2 separate regions of the Homo sapiens genome follow, and region 1 is linked to region 2. The links are contacts of gene promoters, found by promoter capture Hi-C in blood cells and fetal thymus (Javierre and others, 2016). All regions are on one chromosome and are shown on one strand. The core of a region is centred on a gene start or on the middle of the fragment in contact, and the rest is flanking DNA. Distances in the headings are between cores, read along the strand shown. Region 1 overlaps NFILZ (NFIL3 like basic leucine zipper). Region 2 holds the start of PRAM1 (PML-RARA regulated adaptor molecule 1).

Evidence for each region. Contacts are between HindIII fragments. The CHiCAGO score rates a contact against its expected background, and 5 or more counts as called.
Region 1: a contact is called between a fragment that was not itself captured here and the fragment with the promoter of PRAM1 in region 2, in 1 of 17 cell types (naive CD8 T cells). The highest score is 6.1, in naive CD8 T cells.

What each region holds. Positions count from the first base shown.
Region 1 is chr19:8,632,915-8,639,617 of GRCh38, forward strand. It overlaps NFILZ (NFIL3 like basic leucine zipper), which reads left to right. Exons shown (of 6, transcript NM_001378600.1): 3 at 2,736-2,832. Among named protein-coding and RNA genes, the nearest start is that of NFILZ, 5.6 kb to the left of the region's middle. The HindIII fragment of the contact is 6,295 bases long and covers 426-6,703 here.
Region 2 is chr19:8,498,456-8,505,098 of GRCh38, forward strand. It overlaps PRAM1 (PML-RARA regulated adaptor molecule 1), which reads right to left and starts at 4,185. Exons shown (of 10, transcript NM_032152.5): 1 at 4,110-4,185; 2 at 1-1,325. The coding sequence starts at 4,136. RefSeq lists an enhancer at 54-740. The HindIII fragment of the contact is 16,783 bases long and covers 1-4,652 here.

The DNA.
Region 1 (6,703 bases), core at 2,323-4,822, 130 kb after region 2:
GTTTCACCATGTTGTCCAGGCTGGTCTCAAACTCTTGACCTCAGGTGATCCGCCTGCCTCAGCCTCCCAAAGTGCTGGGATTACAGGCATGAACCACTGCACCTGCCTTTTTTTTTTTTTTTTTGAGACAGAGCCTTGCTCTGTCACTCAGGCTGGAGTGCAGTGGTGTAATCTTGGCTTACTGCACCCTCTGCCTCCTGGGTTCAAGGGATTCTCCTGCCTCAGCCTCCTGACTGATTGAGATTACAGATGTGCACCACCATGCCCAGCTAATTTTTTGTATTTTCAGTCGAGACGGGGTTTTACCGTGTTGGCCAGACTGGTCTTGGATTCCTGACCTAAGGCGATGCACCCACCTCGGCCTCCCAAAGTGCTGGGATTATAGGTGGAAGCCAACGCGCCCGGCCTCCTTTACTTCCTTAATAAGCTTGCTTTCACTTTACTCCGTGGACTCTCCCTGAAATCTTTCTTGCGGGGGACCTAAGAACCCTCTTTTGGGGTCTGGATCGGGACCCTTTTCCAGTAAAAGTTGGTGTTATTGGCAGTGAGGTAGGGAAGCTGCGGCTAAGCTGAGGCTGCACAGGGAAGGTGTCTTGACCTTGAACTTGACACCTTGACCTTGGACCCTTGCCTAGGCTCTGAGGGCCAGCTCCTTTCCCTCTCTCTACCTTCCCCCACCTCTGGCTCTTGGAAGTGCACCTGCAGCTGCTGTGGGAGGAGCCCTCCAGCCGCCCTGAGGATGGTTTCCTGCCTCCCTTCCTGCCCCCTCTGAAGACCAACTTAGCTATGCCCAACTCAGCTCTTGTCCTGGGACAAGGCCCCCTGCCTCCTGGTCAAGGGAGCAGGGTCCTGGGGAGGGAGAGACAGATGTCGAGGCTGGACAGGAGGTTGTGGAAGGGGAGGAAGTGGATTTGGGAGTATAGCTTTCTTTCTTACTCAGTTATCATTAGTATAACTTTTCTCCCTTCCTTCCTTCCTTCCTTCCTTCCTTCCTTCCTTCCTTCCTTCCTTCCTTCCTTCCTTCCTTCCTTCCCTCCCTTCTTTCCTTCTCTCTCTCTCTTTTTTGCTTTCTTGCTTGCTTTCTTGTTTCCTTTTTTTTTTGAGATAGAGTCTTGCTCTGTCACCCAGGCTGCAGTACGGTGGCGCCATCTCGGCTCATTGCAACCTCCACCTGCCAGGTTCAAGCGATTCTCCTGCCTCAGCCTCCCAAGTAGCTGGGACTACAGGTGTGTGCTATCATGCCCAGCTGATTTTTGTATCTTTGGTAGAGAAGGGGTTTCACCATGTTGGCCAGGCTGGTCTTGAACCCCTGGCTTCAAGTGATCCACCCCCTTGGTCTCCCAAAGTGTTGGGATTACAGGCGTGAGCCACCCTGCCTGGCCTCTTTTTTTTTTCTTTTTGAGACAGGGTTTCACTCTGTTGCCCAGGCTGGATTGCAGTGGTGCAATCCAGCCTTGAATGTCTGGGCTCAAATGATTCTCCCACATCAGCCTCCTGAGTAGCTGGAACTATCGGCGCATGCCGTGACACCCAGCTAATTTTTATTTTTTGTAGAGATGGGATCTCTCTCAAATTCCTGGCCTCAAGTAATCCTCTTGCCTCAGCCTACCAAAATGCTGGGCCTTATTATTGTAATGTTTTTTCCTTTCATTTAAGTAAAAATTAAAGTGTAATTTACTGGCCAGGTGTGGTGGCACAGGCCTATAGTCCCAGCACTTTGGGAGGCTGAGGCGGGCGGATCGCTTGAGCTCAGGCATTGGAGATCAGTCTGGGCAACACAGTGAGACCTTGTCTCTACAAAAAACAAAACAGAAAATTAGCTGGGCATAGTGGTGTGCATTCGTAGTTCCAGCTAATTGGGAGGCTAAGGTGGGAGGATCACTTGAATCCGGGAAGTCGAGGCTGCATCAAGCCAAGATGGCCCCACTGCACTTTAGCCAAGACCCTATCACAAACAAACAAACAAACAAACAAACAAACAAACAAACAAAAAAACAAAAAAACCAGTGTAATTTACTGACAGTGAAACCCATACATATTAGTATACGATTCTGTGATATTTGACAAACCACACAACCCTATAACCACAACCTCAATAGAAATACAGAATACCGGCCAGGCCTGGTGGCTCACACTTGTAATCCTAGCACTTTGGGAGGCTGAGGCGGGTGGATCACTTGAGGTCAGGAGTTCAAGACCAGCCTGGCCAACATAGTGACTCTCTGTCTCTACTAAAAATACAAAAATTAGCCGGGCATGGTGGTGGGCACCTGTAATCCCAGCTACTCAGGAGGCTGAGGCAGGAGAATCGCTTGAACCTGGGAGGCGGAGGTTGCAGTGAGCCGAGATCATACCACTGCACCTCAGCCTGGGCAACAGAGCAAGACTCCATCTCAAAAAAAAAAAAATTAAAAAAAAAAAAAAAGAAATACAGAATACCTTTTTCCCTCCCAATTCCTGCAATTCCTGCGTGCCCCTCTGGAGTCAATTTCTCTCCCTCAGTCCCAGCCCCTGGCCCCTGCTGACTTCCTCTCTGTTGCTATATTTCTGCCTTTTCCCAGGATATTATGTCAATGGAATCGTACCATAGGCAGCTTTTGGCGCATACTTCTTCCAGGCAGCAGAATGCATTTGAGGCTTATTCACGTTGTTGGGTGTAGCATTTTTTGTTTCTTTTACTGTTGAGGAGTCCCTGGTATGGATGTGTCACCATGCATCCATTCATTTGTTGACAGACACGTGAGTTGTTTCCAGTTTTGGTGACGAATGCCCAAATTCATAGGCGATGATAAATAATGTGCCAGACGTTGATGTGCAAGTTTTGGTGTGAGGGTAAGTTTCCATTTCTCTACGGTGAATACCTATGAGTCCTTATTCTCTCTCTCTGTCTCTGACTTTCTCTTTCTCTCTTTATTTATTTGTTTATTTATTTTTATTTATTAGACAGGGTCTTGCTCTGTCACCCAAACTGGAGTGCAATGGTGCAGTCTTGGCTCATTGCCACCTCTGCCTCCTGGGCTCAAGCTATTTTCCTGTCTCAGCCTCCAGAGTAGCTGGAATTACAGGTGCGCACCACCACACCCAGCTGATTTTTGTATTTTTAGTAGAGAGGGGGTTTCACCGTATTGCCCAGGCTGGTGTTGAACTCCTGGCCTCAAGTGTTCTACCCGGCTCATCCTCCCAAAGTACTGGTATTACAGGCATGAGCCACCACACCCAGCCAAAACCAGCCTTTTAAAAAAATTTTATTTTCGGCTGGGCGCGGTGGCTCATGCCTGTAATCTCAGCACTTTGGGAGGCCGAGGCGGGTGAATCACGGGGTCAGGAGTTCGAGACCAGCCTGACCAACATGGTGAAACCCCGTCTCTACTAAAAATACAAAAATTAACTGGGCATGGTGGCACACGCCTGTAGTCCCAGCTACTTGGGAGGCTGAGGCAGGAGAAATGCTTGAACCTGGGAGGCGGAGGTTGCAGTGAGCCGAGATTGCGCCATTGCACTCCAGCCTGGGCAACACAGCGAGACTCCATCTTTTTTTTTTTTTTTTTGAAACAGAGTCTTGCTCTGTCGCCCAGGCTGGAGTTCAATGGCGCCATCTCGGCTCACCGCAACCTCTGCCTCCTGGGTTCAAGCAATTCTCCTCCCTTAGCCTCCTGAGTAGCTAGGATTACAGGCATGCACCATCATGCCCAGCTATGTTTTTTTTTTTAATTTTTATTTTTAGTAGAGACGGGGTTTCACCATGTTGGTGAGGCTGGCCTTGAACTCCCGACCTCAGGTGATCAGCTTGCCTTGGCCTCCCAAAGTGCTGGGATTACAGGCGTGAGCCACCATGCTTGGCTAATTTTTGTATTTTTAATAGAGGTGAGGTTTCACCCTTTTGCCCAGGCTGGCCTCGAACTCCTGACCACAAGTGATCCGCCCACCTTGGCCTCCCAAAGTTTTGGGATTACAGGCATTAGCCATTGCGCCTGGCCTATATGGAGGCTTTTGTATGGAGAGACAGGACACTGGTCCCCTGGATACTGGAGGGGGACAGTCAGGGATAGAGCTGGGGCCAAGGGGAAGATATAGAAGTGCGAATCAGGTGAGGTATAGGACAGGGTGCCTGGAGGGGAGGCCAGAATCTTCATTCTAACCAAATCCTTGCCTAGTTTTTAAAAAAATGGGCAAGGCTGAATGTGGTGGCTCATACCTGTAGTCCCAGTACTTTAAGAGGCCAAGGCAGAAGGATCACTTGAGCCCAGGAGTTCGAGGCTGCAGTGAGCTAGGACTGTGCACTCCAGCCGGGTGTGATGACGCACACATATAATCTCAGCTCTCAGAAGGCTGAAGCAGGAGAGTCACTTGAATCCAGGAGGCAGAGATTGTAGTGAGCTGAGATCACACCACTGCACTCCAGCCTGGGCAATAGAAAAAAAACCAAAACCAAACCAAAACAAAACCTTAAACACAAAGTTACCATAGAACTCAGCAACTCCTGAGGTCAGGAGTTCGAGACCAGCCTGACCAACATGGTGAAGCCCCTTCTCTACTAAAAATACAAAAATTAGCAGGGAATGGCGGTGCATACTTGTAGTCCCAGCTACTTGGGAGGCTGAGGCAGGAGAATAGCTTGAACTGGGGAGGTGGAGGTTGCAGTGACCCGAGATTGCACCACTGCTCTCCAGCCTAGGCGACAGAGTGAGACTCCATCTCAAAAAAAAAAAAGGCCGAGTGCAGTGGCTCACGCCTGTAATTCCAGCACTTTGGGAGGCTGAGGCATGTGGATCACCTGAGGTCAGGAGTTTGAGACCAGCCTGACCAACATAGTGAAACTCCATCTCTACTAAAATACAAAAAATTAGCCAGGCATGGTGGCAGATGCCTGTAATCTCAGCTACTTGGGAGGCTGAGGCAGGAGAATCACCTGAACCAGGGAGGCGGAGATTGCAGTGAGCTGAGATTGCGCCACTGTACTACAGCCTGGGCGACAAGAGCAAGACTAAAGATGGTCTCAAAAAAAAAAAAAAAAAAAAAAGAAAAGAACAGAAAAAGAAAAACAAAAAGCCTCCACATAGTCCCCTTGCTCTTGTAGAACAGAGAAGGACTTCATAGACCTTTCCCCAACACAGGTTAGTGCCAGCATGACCTTGCCAGGCCACCTTAATAGAGCAAAGATCAGTAGATGCTATGGGAAGTCAAATTTTCTCAACATTAGAAACTCTTTCCAACACACAGAAAAATGGAAAGAATTGGGCACAGGCACACTCACCCCTAGATTCTACAACGAACTCATTGCCATTCCGCGGTAAACGCTAAGCCAGGCGTCACACGCTATGCTGTGTGATGCTAGAAGTGCGCACACTTATCCTGTTGGTGGTGGAATTTACACGTGCGTTCATGAGTGTGCACGTGCGTTAGCCGCTGTGTGCATTTGTGGGCGTGCAAAGGGATGTGCCTGGGGGAAAACCTCACACAGTGGTTAGGAAGCCTGTGCAGTTGAACTGTGGGGGCTCCCGTCTTGCTTCTGCCACTTAAGGACTGTGGGGCCTTGGGCGAATTGCCCAACTTCTCTCCTGCCCGTTTCCTCTTTCAGTGTGGATTCATTCATTCAACAAATATTTACGGAACGAACACCTCCTGCGTGCCAGGCTCCATTCCAAGCACTGGGGGTTGCAGCGGCGAACAAAACAGACCCAAATGCCTGCCCTGGTGGGCCAGGAAGGCAGAAATAAAGATGAAGAGTTGGTCAAGTCTGCAGTATGTCACAGGGTGGTAGGGCTGCGTTTGTGTACATGGGGAAGAGGCTGCAGCTTTAGAGGTGGGGGGACCTCCCGGGGAAGGTGAGGAGAGTGAGGTGCTTCTAGGGGGATGGAGGGGAGGGGAGAGTCTTTCTGGCAGAGGGCAAAGCAAGTGCAAAGGCCCTGAAGCAGGAATTTACTTTGCTGTTTTTTTTTTTTTTTTTGAGATGGAATCTCGCTCTGTTGCCCAGACTGGAGTGCAGTGGCACAATCTTGGATCACCGCAACCTCTGCCTCCCGGGTTCAAGGGATCCTCCTGCCTCAGCCTCCGAGTAGCTGGGATTACAGGCGCACACCACCATGCCCAGCTAATTTTTTGTATTTGTAATAGAGACAGGCTTTCACCACATTGGCCAGGCTGGTCTCAAACTCCTGGCCTCAAGTGATCTGCCCGACTCGGCCTCCCAAAGTGGTGGGATTGCAGGTGTCAGCCACTGAGCCCGGCCTACTTGGCTGTTTAAGGAACAGTGAGGAGGTCCATGTGGTTGGAGCAGAGTGATAGAAGGGGTGAGAGGAAGGAGGGCAAAGGCAGAGAGGTGACAGTGGGTGTTGTGGGGAAGGAGAGCTTGCAAGATCTCAAGAGTTACAGGCATGGCAGGCCAGGCATGGCGGCTCACACCTGTAACCCCAGCACTTTGGGAGGCTGAGGCAGGAGGATCATTTGAGCCTGGAAGTTTGCGACCAGCCTGGGCAACATAGCAAGACCCCTGCCTCTACAAAAACAAAACAAAACAAAACAAAACGCAACAATTAGCCAAGTATGGTGGCATGTGCCTGTAGTCCCAGCTACTCAGGAGGCAGGAAGATCGCTTGAGCCCAGGAGTTTGAGGCTGTAGTGAGCTATGATCGCACCACAGCAATACAGCCTGGGTCACAGAGCCAGACCATCTCTTAAGAAAATTAAAAAAAAAAAAAAAAGA
Region 2 (6,643 bases), core at 2,935-5,434:
CCCAGGCTGCTGGCAGGGGGCAGAGGCCTCCGCCGGGGTGGATGGCTGGGTCTGAGGCCTGGCCTGGCCCCTCCACTGTGAACCAGGCCTCCTGACCTCCAGCGGGGTGTCCCAGCCGCTCCAAACCCAGGGCTGAGCGGGTGCCGGGAGCTGAAGCCGGCCACGGCCGCAGGCAGTGAGCTCTCGGAAGCGGAGCTGGGGAGTGGAGGCTTTCGAGGGAGATCACCGAAGAACTCAGGCTGCGGGTGTCTCTTGAGGACAGCGCTGGGCTCAGGCTGTGAGAACTTGCGGGGTGGCCCCCGGCGCTCCGGCTGCAGCAGCTTCCTGGGGAGTGAGTTGAACTCGGGCTCTGAGGAGGTCCTGGGGAGGCCGCCCAGCTCGGGCTGCGGGGGCTTCTTGGAGAGCGCTTTGAATTCGGCCGGCCGCGGCCTCTTGGGAAGCACGCTGACTTCGGGCTCTGAGGAGGTCCTGGTGAGGTCCCCAAGCTCAGGCTGCGGAGGCTTCTTGGGAAAGTCACTCAGCGGAGGCTGGGAGGCCTTTTTGGGAAAGGCGCTGGAGTCGCGCTTCGGCTCGCTGGACTGAGGCTTCCAGAGGGGAGTCTGAGCGGCCTCGCTGAACTCAGGCTGCGGCACGGACTTCTTAGGGAGGCCACCGACCTGAGGCTGCGGAGGCTTTTTGGGGTACACGTTGAACTCAGGCTGCGCAGGCTTCTTGGGAAAGGTACTCAACTCAGGCTGCGGGGACCTCGGGGTAGCCTCACCGGCCTCGGGTTGCCAGAGCTTCCTGGGGAATGCGCCGGATTTGGGTTCGGAGGGGGGTCTGGCGGGGTGACTGAGTTCGTCGGGCTGCAGGGGTTTCCGGGCCGGCGCACCAGGCTCCGGCAGCGAGGCCTTCAAAGGGGCCTCACCGACCTCAGGCTGCAGGGGCTTCCTTGGAAACGGAGTGGCCCCCAGCTGTGGGAACTTCTTGGAGAGGTCACTCAACTCCAGTTTGGACGGCTTCTTGGGGAGGTCAGTGACCTCAGGCGGCGGGGGCTTCTTGGGGAGGTCAGTGACCTCAGGCGGCGGGGGCTTCTTGGGGAGGTCAGTGACCTCAGGCGGCGGGGGCTTCTTGGGGAGGTCAGTGACCTCAGGCGGCGGGGGCTTCAAGGACACTGCACCAAACTCAGGCAGCGGGGCCTTCTTGGGGTGCTCGCTTAGCTCAGGCTGGGAGAACTTCTTCAGTTTACCAAACTCAGGCTTCGGAGGTTTTTTGGGCAGGTCGCTGGGCTCCGGCTGAGAGGCCTGGAACTTTGCTTTGATGCTCCGGAAGTCCTGATGGCTCTCCTAGGAGACGCAGAGCCAATGAGGCAGGGGCTCAAACACACAGAAGGGGCATGGAAGGATGGGCCTGGGGACCCTCAGGCACAGCCCACAACCACCACCCCTGCGCCCAGGCCCGGTCAGCCCTCAGCTCTTTCCCAGGAGCCCCCATGGATCCTAGGATCCTGGGACCGACACCCCTCCCTACTTCTCCATTTAGTGCTGATTCCACACCCAACCTCCTCTAGCAGCACTGGAGATCCCGACATCCCTCCTGCAGCCTCCAGTCCCACTGCCCTCCCCCCATGGGTGGTACCCCACCCCCCCAGCATCCTTGACCCCCTCATTCTTTCACCCCTCCCACTGCATGTCTCCAGTCTCGTTCCATTGCCCAGGCTGGAGAGCAGTGGTGCAATCATAGCTCACTGCAGCTTGCAACTCCTGGGCTCCAATGATTCCCCCGACCTCGGCCTCCCCAGTAGCTGGGATTACAGGCTTGAGCCGCCGCGCCCAGGCCCCCAGTCCCTTCTGTGCTAATTTCAAAACACATCCGGAATCCAACCACTTCTCACTGCCTTCACCACTGTCACCCCAGGAGGTAGTGGGAGGCAGTGTCTGCCCTCCCCCAACCAATTGCCTGGATTACTCTAACAAGCCCTTCCCTGGGCCTCTGCCTACCCCCTTCCCTGGTCAGTTCCCCCCATGGCAGCTGGAGGGAGAAGCCTGTTGAACCCTGAGTCTGTTTGTGTCCCTCTGCTCAAAACTCGGCAATGCTTCCTCATGTCCCCACAGTTCAAGCTAAATGCCTCATAAAAGCCTGGGCGAACCAGCCTCCCTACCCAGCCACCTTCTCCTCCCTGCACCCTGAACACTTCCCTCCGACCTCGGGGCCTCTGCCCTGTCCCTGACCCAGGACATGTCTCTGCACCACCTGGGTCTCTCCTTTTCCTCCTCCCAGCCTCTGTTCTCATATTTTCTTATTAGAGAGGCCATCCAAGGCCACCCTATTTGTTTATTTTTATTTTTTGAGATGGAGTCTTGCTCTGTCACCCAGACTGGAGTGCAATGGCGCGATCTCGGCTCACTGCAATCTCCACTTCCCAGGTTCAAATGATTCTCGTGCCTCAGCCGCCCAAGTAGCTGGGATTACAGGCACTCGCCACCACACCTGGCTAATTTTTGTATTTTAACTAGAGACAGGGTTTCACCACGTTGGCCAGGCTGGTCTCAAACTCACGACCTCAGGTGATCCACCCTCCACCCGCCTCAGCCTCCCAAAGTGCTGGGATTACAGGTGTGAGCCACCGTGCCCAACCTAGACCACCCTATTTTTCTTTCTTTCTTTTTTTTTTTTTTTTTTGAGACGGAGTCTCACTCTGTCACCCAGGTTGGAATGCAGTGGTGGAATCTCGCCATACTGCAACCTCCGCCTCCTGGGTTCAAGCGATTCTCAGCCTCCTGAGTAGCTGGGATCACAGGTGTCTGCCACGACGCCTGGCTAATTTTTTTTGTATTTTTAATGGAAACAGGGTTTTACCATGTTGGCCAGGCTGGTCTCGAACTCCTGACCTCAAGTGATCCACCCACCTCGGCCTCCCAAAGTGCATGAGCCATCACGCCTGGCCTAGACCACCCTATTTTAAATGGATCACCCCATCCCACTACTGCCCTGCATTCAGCATGCATGATTTTCTCCATCGTACCCACCCCTACGTATTATACTATTTTACATTGTTTTTAATGTGTCTTGATTTTTTTTTTTTTTTTTTTTTGTCTCTCTACACCACAACTTCCCTCAGTTCCTCAGCCTCTGCAAGGCAGAGACTTGGCTCATTCATTGCTGTCTTCCCAGGGCCTGGAACATGGTAGGTGCTCAGTAAATATTTGCTGAAATAAACAATATTCAGGCAGCACAAAGACAGCCATGTACTCAGCCTGACCATCAGGAAAACACAGAGATGCCTGGAGACGGCCATGCGGTCCCTCTCACACCGTCTCTGACATGCGGGCTGATGGTCAGGAATGCTCACAGTTGACAGTGCCTGAGAGGATTGGTGCAGACACCGTGGGCACAGGCGCTGTCTCCTGCATACCCAGCTGTCCCAGCTGCCCTCCTAGCTGGCCCTGCAACCACTCCTCACAGAGGTAGGCAGATTCACAAGAAGGCCAGGCCTCCTTAGTCCTACAAACGCCCCTTTCACCTGTGGTCAAGGAGATTGGGGGAGGGAAAGGGCAGAAACGTGTGGCCTTTGCTTCCTGCGTGTGCCTCACTTTCCCCATCCAGAGGACCAGAGACCAGGATTGCTCCTTGGAAAGGCAGCAATTCCCACCTGGGGCCTGAAGTGCCCCTGTCAAAGCCCCGAGTGGTTTGAAGGAAGTGCTCCCGGGCGACCACAGGGCTAGATAAGTCAGGGTTAGCAGGTCACAACTTGGGTGACTGGACGGGGGAGGGTCATGACCCACTTTGTCACCCCGCAGGAAAGCACTGCTCTCACCCCAGCAGCCCGTTCCCACATGGCTGCTCATGTTGACCTGGGGAGACGGGAGTTGTCCCCCCGGGGAGTCCCATCTGTCCCCCTCGCAGTCCCAACCTGAGCGTGAACCCCCAGGAGCCCGCGCTGTCCTGGGGTGTGCCTGGTGGCCGCCTACCTCGGGTCCTTTTTGCCGACCCTTCCCGTTTCCCAGATGTCTTTCGCAGCCACCCCCCGCCCCCCCGCCCGCCCCTCCACAGGTGGATCCTATCCTTCTGGGAACATCTGTGTCCCTTGCTTCCCAGCCAGTGAGGCACAGGCCTCTTCCAGCACTCACCATGGCTGCAGGCAGGTGATGGGCCATGGGATGAGTGGGACCCGAGCTGGGGCCGCTGCCTTCAGGAAGTGACTGTGGCTTCTGCTCCACGGTCAGCACACAGGGTGGGGGCTGCTAGAGGTGGGGCGGGGGAGGGCAGAGGAGGAAGGGAAGGAGGTGGGGAGGCTCCAGTCCGTCTCCAGATCCTGCCAGCCACTTCTTTTTTTTTGAGACTGAGTCTTGCTCTGTCGCCCAGGCTGGAGTGCCATGGTGCCATCTCGGCTCACTGCAACCTCTGCCTCCCGGGTTCAGGCAATTCTTTTGCATCAACCTCCTGAGTAGCTGGGATTACAGGCGCGCACCACCGCTCCTGGCTACTTTTCGTATCTTTAGTAGAGAAGGGGTTTCACCATGTTGGGCAGGCTGGTCTCAAACTCCTGACCTCAAGGGATCGGTCCGCCTCGGCCTACCAAAGTGCTGGGATTACAGGTGTGAGCCACTGCCCCGGCCCCTGCTGGGCACTTCTATTTCGCTTGAATTCCTGTCCTGCCTGCTACTGTCCCAAGCTTGGGGCACTGGTTGCCCGCATGTTCCTAACATGGTCACTAGTTTCTTTCTTTTTTTTTTTTTTTTTTTTTTTTTTGAGACGGGGTATCACTTTGTTGCCCAGGCTGGAGTGTAGTGGCGCAATCTCGACTCACTGCAACCTCCGCCTCCCAGGTTCAAGCGATTGTCCTGCCTCAGTCTCCTGAGTAGCTGGAATTACATGCATGTGCCACCACTGCCGGCTAATTTTTTGTATTTTTAGTAGAGACGGGGTTTCACCATGTTGGTCAGGCTGGTCTCAAACTCCCAACCTCAGATGATCTGCCCGCCTCGGCCTCCCAAAGTGCTGGGACTACAGGCGTGAGCAACCACGCCTGGCCAACTAGTTTCTTACTCTCTATAGTCCCCATCATTCCTACTACTTTGGTGTCCCCATCTCTGGACTCCAGGGAGGACTCCATGCCAGGCCCTGGTGACCTCCTGGGCTAGAGAGCCACAGGATGGGGAGATCTCAGCAGATCAGGGGTACGGACAGCTCTGGGGTTTAGGAGGCTCCTGGGGAGGCCCAGAGGCCCAGGACGTGGGGGCCCATGTGACCGGGTGAGGCCTCTGCTGTCTGCCCTGGTTGGCTCATCCGCCTTCCTCATTTCAACACTTCCATGAAATCCAATTCCCGGCTCTGAGCAGGACTCACTTGTTCTGGGGCAGATATCACAGGCCATGGATGTCCCAGGCTGCCGCCCTGGGCAGAAAGCTTAGCTGGTACAGCAGATTTGGGGGTCGGTGGGTGAGTGGTGTCAAAGGCCTTGCACCTGGGCCACGCACGGTGGCTCACGCCTGTAATCCTAACACTTTGGGAGGCTGAGGCAGGAGGATCACTTGAGCCCAGGAGTTCAAGACCAGCTTGGGCAATGTAGCAAGACTCCATCTCTACAAAAAATATAAAATTAGCCAGGTGTGATGGTGCACGCCTGTGGTCCCAGCTGCTTGGGAGGCTGGGGTGGGAGAATCACTTGAACCCTGAAGGCGGAGGTTGCAGAGTCAAGATCACGCCACTGTACTCCATGCTGGGTGACAGAGAGAGACTCCATCTCAAAAAAAAAAAAAAAAAAAGGCTTTGCAGTTCTGGAGGAGTGAGGGGGTCTGAGGACCCGAGGACACACCAGATTCCCAGAGGTTAGAGGTAGTAGAGAGAAGAGGAACCAGGAGACAGAGACAGGGGCCAAGAGGGGGTGAAGGCAGTCACTTGTGGTGCCGAGGACTGGCCAGATAAGGACAAGCCCTGACCACAGAGCTCAGCCCACAGGAGATCAGTAATCTCCGTCACGGTAGACAAAGGGAGAAAACACCTGCTAAGAGAGTAGAGAGCCCTGGTTTTCAGTTTGAGCACATGTTGGAATTGCCTGAACAGTTAAAAAAAAAAAAAAAAGAACCGGCGGTTGGGCAGTGTGGCTCACGCCTGTAATCCCAGCACTTTGGGAGGCTGAGTCGGGTGGATCACCTGAGGTTGATCACCTGAGGTTGGGAGTTCAAGACCAGCCTGGGCAACATGGAGAAACCCCATCTCTACTAAAAATACAAAAATTAGCTCGGCGTGGTGGCGCATGCCTGTAATCTTGGCTACTTGGGAGGCTGAGGCAGGAGAATTGCTTGAACCCAGGAGGCGGAGGTTGCAGTGAGACGAGATGGCTCCACTGCACTCCAGTCTGGGTGACAGAGCAAAACTCCATCTAAAAAAAAACAAAACAAAAAACAGAACCTACAAGAAACTCTGACTTAATCAGTCTGGGGTGTGGCCCGAGCAAGTATTTTTAAAACATTTTAAAATTTTTTTTTTGAGACAAAGTCTTGCTCTGTCTCCCAGGCTGCCTCCCGGCTTCAAGTAGCTGGGATTACAGGTGCCTGCCAACATGCCCGGCTAATTTTCTGGATTTTTAGCAGAGCTGGGGTGTCACCATTGGCCAGGCTGGTCTCAAACTCCTGACCTCAAGCAATCTACCCACGTGGGC